Linked DNA regions of Homo sapiens: region 2 is linked to region 1. The links are contacts of gene promoters, found by promoter capture Hi-C in human tissues and cell types (Jung and others, 2019). All regions are on one chromosome and are shown on one strand. Each heading gives the region's core, a stretch centred on a gene start or on the middle of the fragment in contact. The rest is flanking DNA. Distances are from core to core; before and after follow the strand shown. Region 1 holds the start of CDAN1 (codanin 1). Region 2 overlaps TTBK2 (tau tubulin kinase 2).

The links. Contacts are between HindIII fragments. The study calls those that stand out against the background at their distance.
Region 2: a fragment that was not itself captured here is called in contact with the fragment with the promoter of CDAN1 in region 1 in 1 of the 25 tissues and cell types used here (aorta).

Annotation. Positions count from the first base shown.
Region 1 is chr15:42,735,366-42,739,515 of GRCh38, reverse strand. CDAN1 (codanin 1) reads left to right here and starts at 2,388. Exons shown (of 28, transcript NM_138477.4): 1 at 2,388-2,503; 2 at 2,736-3,214; 3 at 3,438-3,641; 4 at 3,837-4,006; 5 at 4,142-4,150. The coding sequence starts at 2,414. It overlaps TTBK2 (tau tubulin kinase 2), which reads left to right. Exons shown (of 15, transcript NM_173500.4): 15 at 1-786. It overlaps TTBK2-AS1 (TTBK2 antisense RNA 1), which reads right to left and starts at 398. Exons shown (of 3, transcript NR_186317.1): 1 at 281-398. RefSeq lists silencers at 2,202-2,451, 2,642-2,781, 2,872-3,161. The HindIII fragment of the contact is 10,495 bases long and covers 148-4,150 here.
Region 2 is chr15:42,874,675-42,878,824 of GRCh38, reverse strand. TTBK2 (tau tubulin kinase 2) reads left to right here. Exons shown (of 15, transcript NM_173500.4): 2 at 141-276. The coding sequence starts at 208. Among named protein-coding and RNA genes, the nearest start is that of TTBK2, 44 kb to the left of the region's middle. The HindIII fragment of the contact is 8,377 bases long and covers 1-4,150 here.

The DNA of each region.
Region 1 (4,150 bases), core at 1,139-3,638:
TTTCTAAAATAGCCAGTGTCTATTTCACTAGGCCATTTACTTACAAGTTCCCAGCTTTTAGGGAAAAAAGAGGGAGGGGGGAGCATCTAGTTTTGAATTAGATATACATCTTAGAAGTAATGAGCTATTGGCAGCTGTTAAATCAGATTCAGCCACAAACCAGAATTCTTTCTTGTTGAACAAGACCAATGAGTTAGATGACTTTAATAATTCCACTTTTCTCTCCCTCTCTTCTCCTCTTCCTGAAATCAGAGAGATGAGAAACTACTCTTTGAAATACCTCCAGAGGCGTTTTATTGTGTTCCTTTCCCCTCCAAGCAGCTCCCTTTATACAATTTTGCTCAGGCAACCAAGGACAGAGTATCGGCAGAAACATGGAGTGCTTTTGTATAGGCCACCTGTACATAAAAGTGTAATTATTTATTTAATTTTCCCATTTGTATCATATTAAAGCTTTGTACAGTGTTTTAAGTTCTGTTTTAAAATTATTTTGTATTTTATTTTTATAACCTAGTAATAAAATATTCATTCCGCATGCAAAATCTAGTTCTGTTTGTGTGATGGTCTGGATTTCAAAAGTGGAAAATATTTTTCTAATTTAATAAAGTTATTGAATACACCAGATGTTACAAGATCAACGGGGAGCAGATAGTGTTACTGTAAATGCAGTACCACATCTAGAAGTTCCCTAGAAAAAGCAGCCCAGGACTGAATAGAAGCTAGGTGTTAAGTGTCCCTGCAGTTAGGAGATGTTTTCCTGTAATAAAATTAAAATATTAAAAGCTCCTTTTTAGTCCATTATTCTGTCTGGCTGGAGGTACTTTTTCCTTCTCCATAGGAAATACCCCTTCTGCCACTAGAGAGATTCCTGCACCCCCACCCTCATCCTTCCGCCCGTAACCTTCCTTTGAACCAGAGCAACTCTCAGGAGGCATTCACAAGGGCACTGCCTCACCCCTCCTGGTTTGGTTTGACATGGAATGTTCGTGCCATCTGTTTTTCTCCGCTTGGATTCCCTTGCTTGATTTGTCACTGAGCAGCAACCTTCAAAATCCTCTCTCAGGTTTTTTTGTTTTGTTTTGTTTTTGAGATGGAGTCTCGCTCTGTCACCCAGGCTGGAGTGCAGTGGCGTGATCTTGGATCACTGCAACCTCCGCCTCCCAGGTTCAAGCGATTCTCCTGCCTCAGCCTCCCCAGTAGCTAGGACTACAGGCGCGTGCCACCACGCCCAGTTAATTTTTGTATTTTTATTAGAGACACGGTTTCACCATGTTGGCCAGGATGGTCTCCATCTCTCGACCTCGTGATCCGCCCACCTCTGCCTCCCACTGCATTCCAGCCCCGGGGGTGACAGAGCGAGACTCCATCTCAAAATAAAATTAAATAAAGGAGATTAAGAAATTACTCAGGCCGGGCGTGGTGGCCCACGCCTATAATCCCAGCACTTTGGATCTGCTGCCCTCTCCCGGCCAAAACATTAGCTGGGCTATAGCCCTAGGGAGGCTGAGTCGGGAGGATTGCTTGAGCCCAGGAGGCCAAGGCTGCAGTGAGCCGTGCTCACGCCACTGCACTCCAGCCTGGGCAACAGAGCAAGACCCTGTCTCAAAAAAAACAAAACAAAAACAAAAAACACCAAACCCAAAAATACAAACCTCAAGCTCCCAGAAGCTAATCATGATATGCTTACTGACATCTAAACTGCAAAGTAGTTGAAATATTAACCTCATGTAAACCCACTTAAGTAAATAAAGCTACATACAAGCAATTCTGTGTGCAGGGTGGCCCGAGGCACTTTAAGGGTTGTGGCTTGGGGATTATTAAGAACCTCCTAGAAATAATTCTTTCCTAAATGGTCAGTTGATGGTGAGCGCTGAAAAGCCGATGGGTACTGCTCGGCCAAGGGATTGAAAAATCGGCCTTTGAGAAGAACAAAGTCAAAATGAAAGATTAGATTATAATTTCTCTGGGGTGGTGCCAGTTGGATCTAGGAAACTTAAACTCGTGAAAGAATGTGCTTAGAGCAGAAGATAGAAGCTGGTGGCTGTCTCTGCTCCCCTCTACCTCTCTCCCGGGTCCTGGGTCTCCCTAGAGGGGCGTCCGACCCGCGGCAGCCCCACTCCCAGCTCGAATCCCTCCCTTCAGGTCGCTCCAGGGCGGGCAGCCAAGGTGGGCCTCCCCAGGCGCTGTGATCCACATTTCACCTCCTAACAACCGGCCTCTCGGCCGGGGTTGAGGACTCAGCGAGGCCTTGACTCCGTGGGTCTGGGCAACAGCCGGCTCCGCCCCGCCCCGCCAGCCGGGTCCCTCCCCATCCCGCGACCCAACGGTCGTTCCCCGCCGCCGGCCCCGCCCCTCCCTGGCCGCCCGCGGCGCGCCGGCGCCTGCGCAGTCGCCCCAGAGCGCCCCGACCGGGATGGCGGCCGTTTTGGAGTCGCTGCTGCGAGAAGAGGTGTCGGTCGCAGCCGTCGTGCGGTGGATCGCGCGCAGCACCCAGGGTTCGGAGGTAACAGCGGTGACACGCCCCCAGGTCTGACTCGAAGCCGGTTCCCGCAGTGGAGTCCAGCCCTCCAGTCCCCTTCCTCTAGGGCGCCTGGCTGCCAGCCGGGCCGAGTGCACTCCAACTGGGCGCCGCTGCCCGGGCCGCCCACCCGAGGCGCGCCCTACGGCCCCGGCTGCTCACGGCCCGCGGGCCGGCGGCTGACCCTCTCGCCCCTCCACCTGTGCTTCTGCCCTAGGATAACGCTGGGGAGGCGGCCGCGCTGAGCTCACTCCGGGCCCTGCGGAAAGAATTCGTACCGTTCCTGTTGAACTTCCTGAGGGAGCAGAGCAGCCGCGTCCTCCCGCAGGGGCCCCCGACCCCCGCCAAGACCCCGGGCGCCTCGGCAGCCTTGCCAGGGAGGCCGGGAGGCCCGCCGCGGGGTAGCCGCGGGGCGCGCAGCCAGCTTTTCCCTCCGACCGAGGCCCAGAGCACCGCTGCCGAGGCCCCTCTGGCCCGCCGCGGGGGCAGGAGGCGGGGCCCGGGGCCGGCCCGCGAGCGTGGAGGCCGCGGCCTGGAGGAGGGGGTCAGCGGGGAGAGCCTGCCCGGAGCCGGGGGCCGGAGGCTTAGGGGCTCTGGCAGCCCCAGCCGCCCCAGCCTCACGCTGTCTGATCCGCCAAACCTCAGCAACCTGGAGGAGTTCCCTCCCGTAGGCTCGGTTCCCCCCGGCCCTACAGGGTGAGACTCAGCTCTCATGCAGGAGATGGGTACCACGAAGGCTCTGGGGAGTCAGTCATTCGAGCTCGGCGCTCCGCAGTGGAGCGCCAGGATGGGTAGAAGGCTGGGGGTGATGGTGAGGGTTTTTGTGGGGTTTTTTGGCAAGAGGTCTAGCTGTTGCGGTGGTGGAGGGGAGATGTTTGAAGATAGGAATTTGAGAAAAACCTGTGGCTACTCTCAGCAGGACGAAGCCTTCTCGCAGGATCAACCCAACTCCGGTGAGCGAAGAGCGGTCACTCTCCAAGCCCAAGACCTGCTTCACCTCACCCCCAATCAGCTGTGTCCCCAGTTCCCAACCCTCAGCCCTGGACACTAGCCCTTGGGGCCTTGGCCTTCCCCCAGGGTGCAGAAGTCTGCAAGAGGAGCGAGAGATGCTCAGGAAGGAGCGGTATGGCCTGGCCGCTCCTGGGGATATCGGTTTCCTCGCTGTGGGGGATCTTCAGGGGTTTTCCCTGAAATTGATTTCCCTCTTGGGGACTCTGGGTTTGTCTCCTGGGCTGTTGGTATCTTCTCTGGAGTGACCTGAGTGTGGCCGTAGCAGGGAAGCCAAGCTGACTGCTCATGAAATTTCTTTATTCCATAGCTCTAAGCAGCTGCAGCAGTCACCTACCCCCACCTGTCCCACCCCAGAATTGGGGTCGCCCCTCCCCAGCCGGACAGGAAGCCTCACAGATGAACCTGCAGACCCTGCCAGAGTGTCTTCCCGCCAGCGCCTGGAGCTTGTAGCCCTTGTTTACTCCTCGTGCATTGCTGGTGAGTGAGAGCGGAGGGAGCGGGAGTGGAGACACTTGTAGAACTTATGGGTAAGAGAATTGGTAAGGCACTTGGAACTGAGCCTTGGCTCCAAATGGTGCCCATACCATGGGCTTTCTTTTTGTATCTATCTAGAGAACCTGG
Region 2 (4,150 bases), core at 1,017-3,516, 140 kb before region 1:
CTAGGTCTTTTTCCCCTTCTTCCCAACAAAATAGCCTAATTAGTGTATAGTATTAGTAGTGCTTCCTGATGCTGGAATGTTATTTGTGTTGATTAGTTAACCCTAAATACTGCTACTATTTTTTGTTGTTGTTGTTTTAGGTTAAATGGAAACCACCCTTGGGAACTGGATGCCTGTGTAGCTGTTCTACCATATCAGTGTATTGCAATGAGTGGGGGAGGAGAGCAGCTGGATATCCTGAGTGTTGGAATCCTAGTGAAAGAAAGATGGAAAGTGGTGAGTGTACATCTCAGAGAGTGTGTGTGTGTGTGTGTGTGTGTGTGTGTGTGTGTATACATATCGGGGGGTAATTTTTGGTATCCTGATAAAAATAGCATTTCATTAGGAAATATTACATACATTACTTATATGCCTAAAGCAGTTATTTACAGTTATTTTTCTATGATTAAGCTCTGTTTATACCCTAATTCTTACTCTTGCTTCGTATAGTACTAAATTTTTGAACAGATGAAAAAAATACAGTGTTTGAAAGTACAATGAGCTGGCCGGGCGCAGTGGCTCTCGCCTATAATCCCAGCACTTTGGGAGGCCGAGGCGGGCGGATCACGAGGTCAGGAGATCAAGACCATCTTGGCTAACACGATGAAACCCCATCTCTACTAAAAAAAAAAAAAGCAAAAAAAATTAGCTGGGCGTGGTGCAGGCGCCTGTAGTCCCAGCTACTCAGGAGGTTGAGGCAGGAGAATGGCGTGAACCCGGGAAAAAAAAAGGAAGTACAATGAGCTGCTCTCTCTTTTTTTTTTTTTATTAAGGAAAATTGTAAGTATACATAAAAAATAGACTTATATAATGAACCTCCATGTTCTCATGACTCAAGTTAAATAGTCATCAATGTATGATTAATTTTGTTTCATCTCTCTCCCAGAATATTTTGAAGCGATATTTAACCTTAGCATTTCTTCTGTGTATACTTCAGTATGTATCTCTAAAAAATAAGGACTTACTTTTAAAAACATAATCATAATACCATTATCATACCTTAAAAATAATCATTTCTTCCCTGCTGACTCCTCCCCCAAGATTGTGTATCATTTTGTCTGTTAGCATGTAGTATTTTTCAGCTACTTTCTACTGTTATAAAATACTGTAGTAGTACTAAAAAAAAGTAATCATTTCTTAATATTACCAAATACAGTTTTAGTTTTCACATTCTCCTGATTGTAAAGTATTTTGAATAGCCTGAATCAAGATCCAAATAAAACCTGGATATTGTAATTAGTTGCCATTACTTTTCATTTCTAGGTTCCTTCCTCTTTATTGCTCTTTTTTTTTCCTTACAATTTATTTACTGAAGAAATTAGGTGATTTGTCTGTAGACTTTCCCATGGTTTGGATTTTGCTATTTGCTTCCATTTGGGGTTAACACATTTCTCTGTCTTGTGTATTTCATGTAAATTGGTAGTTGTATCTACAGGCTTGATTAGATCTGACTTTAGATTTGTTTTGAGATGGGGACATCTTTTTTTCATAAATGTTATTGTGAGCCTTCACTAGGAGGCATATAATATCTTATTGTCCGTCTGTCTATCTTTTTTGTGGTGTTAACACTATTGATGATCATTACCTAGGTCTGTTAGTTAGGGATTGCAGATTGGTGATATTCCATAATTCATTTATTAGTTGAAATGTATCTATAAGGACAAGTTTTTTATCATCAATTATTTGATTATCTTGAGGTACAATTTGATTAGGAAAACAAGATAAATACTTGCTTCTCTTTTTTAATTTACCAGTTTTCAAAACAATGAATTGGTTTCTTGCCATTCTCCAAAAGTGATCAATTAGATTTGTTTTTTAGTGTAATTAAGAATTCATGGATTTAATCAAATTTGATGTGTTTCGGTGAATGGTAGTTATCCTTATAAATGTTTAAATTGTCTTATTTGACTAAGGGGACACACTTCACATTGTCTTCTGAGTTCTTTTGACAGGATCCTAATCGTCTTTCAATGGCTTTCTTTTCCTAGACCTGGAATCTGCCATCTCTCTAATACTGCTTGTTTCTTAAAGGAACTATTTTTGTTTGGGATATATTTAAATATTTTTTTATTGCTACACAGTCCACCAAAGTTTTTTTCCATTAGTAGGTTTCACAAAGCTATTTTAATGGTTTCCTTAATCTATGAACAGATTGGAAAAAGAAGACCCTTTAGAAATAGAATTTTTATTTTTTATTTGTATGGTACAATGTGTTTTACTGATTAGGTAAGTCAGTAGGCTTTGAAAATTTACTTGACCAAATATAAGGAAACTATGTCATTATCATGGACTAGTGCAGGGAGATTCAGCAGTTGCTAATCTTTTATGTAAGTCAGACATGAGTGTTGCTTTGGTGAGAGGATTATAGTAAGCACTGTGTTAAGGCTGGTTTGTTCTCCAGTGGACATATCAAAAGGTGACAAGTGAAACTCTTGATTGGCATGGTTCCCTTGTCCTGGTAATTAGAACTAATATATCTGAGCAACTTATCTCCAAAATTTGGGAGGGCATAGTGGCATTTTTAGTTAAAAAAAAAATGACAAGCTCACTGTTATGGATGGTGTTTTAGTTATTTATTGTTATATAACAAACTACATCAAAATTTAGAGGCTTATTTTGCTTACAGTTTTGTGACGTAGGAATTTGGGAAGAGTTTGCCTGGGTGATTTGTCTCTTAACCATGTGGCACTAGGAAGATTGTTTTGGTTAGAGGATCCATTTATACATGGTTTCTTCACTCACTTGTCCGGTATCTTGAGGTCCTTAGCTCTTCACCCCCAACCCCCAACCCCCAACCTGGTGGCTCATTTTCTAGGGCATCTCCATGTGGCTGTGGCTTCTCAGGATGGTCCCATTTCTTTTTTTTTTTTTTTTTTTTTTGAGACGGAGTCTTGCTCTGTCGCCCAGGCTGGAGTGCAGAGGCGTGATCTCAGCTCACTGCAGCCTGCGCCTCCCGGGTTCAAGCGACTCTCCTGCCTCAGCCTCCCAAGTAGCTGGGATTACAGGCACGCGCCATCACACTGGCTAATTTTTGTATTTTTAGTAGAGACGGGGTTTTGCCATGTTGGCCAGTCTGGTCTGGAACTCCCGACCTCAGGTGATTCACCTGACTCGACCTCCCAAAGTGCTGGGATTACAGATGTGAGCCACTGTGCCTGGCCAGATGGTCCCATTTCTTACATGGTAGCTAGCTTTCAAGAGACAGGAAATGGAAGCTCCCAGGCTGGTTAAGGGCAATCCTCAGAGCTGGCACAGTGTCACTTTGCCCTATTCTGTTGATGAAAACAGTTAAGGGGAAAATGGACTCTACCTCTTGGTGGGGGAGTAGCAAGGTCACATTGTTTTCATCAGTGTGAAAGGTTTTCTTCACATTGAAGAAGAGCAGGAATGGATGATATTGTTGTGCCTATCGTTGGAAAATACAATCTTCCACAGACCTTACCTCTATTCTTCTTGTAATCTGTGTACCCCAATCATACTAAACTGCCTCTGTCTCTTTGCCTCATAAACCTTGATAATTTCTTAGGGCTTTGTCAGGCCAATTAAAAAATGCTGTATTAATGTTTAAATGGCATTATAGGAATAGAAATAGACTAAGAAGCAAGAACATTTACTTCAGCCTAGATGTTTTATTCTGTCATTTGGTAAGGTTTTTTGTGAGGTAAAACGTGAAGCTACCTCTACCAGTCCTTAGTTAGAAAGGAATCTGTTTGGTACTGTTTATGAGTTTTTAAACCTACACTAGGTTTTATTTAATGGACAAAATATAAAGAATCATAAGTATCAATTTTTTTTTTTTTTTGAGGCAGTCTCACACTGTTGCCCAGGCTGGAGTGCAATGGTGTGATCTTGGCTCACTGCAACCTCTGCCTCCCAGGTTCAAGCGATTCTCCTGTCTCAGCCTCCTGAGTAGCTGGGATTACAGGCACATGCCACCACGCCCGGCTAATTTTTATAATTTTAGTAGAGACGGGCTTTCACGATGTTGGTCAGGCTGCTCTCAAACTCCTGACTTCATGATCCGCCCGCCTCGGCCTCCCAAAGTGCTGGGATTACAGGTGTGAGCCACCGCGCCCGGCCACTTCTGGAACTTTAAAAAAATCTTGAACTC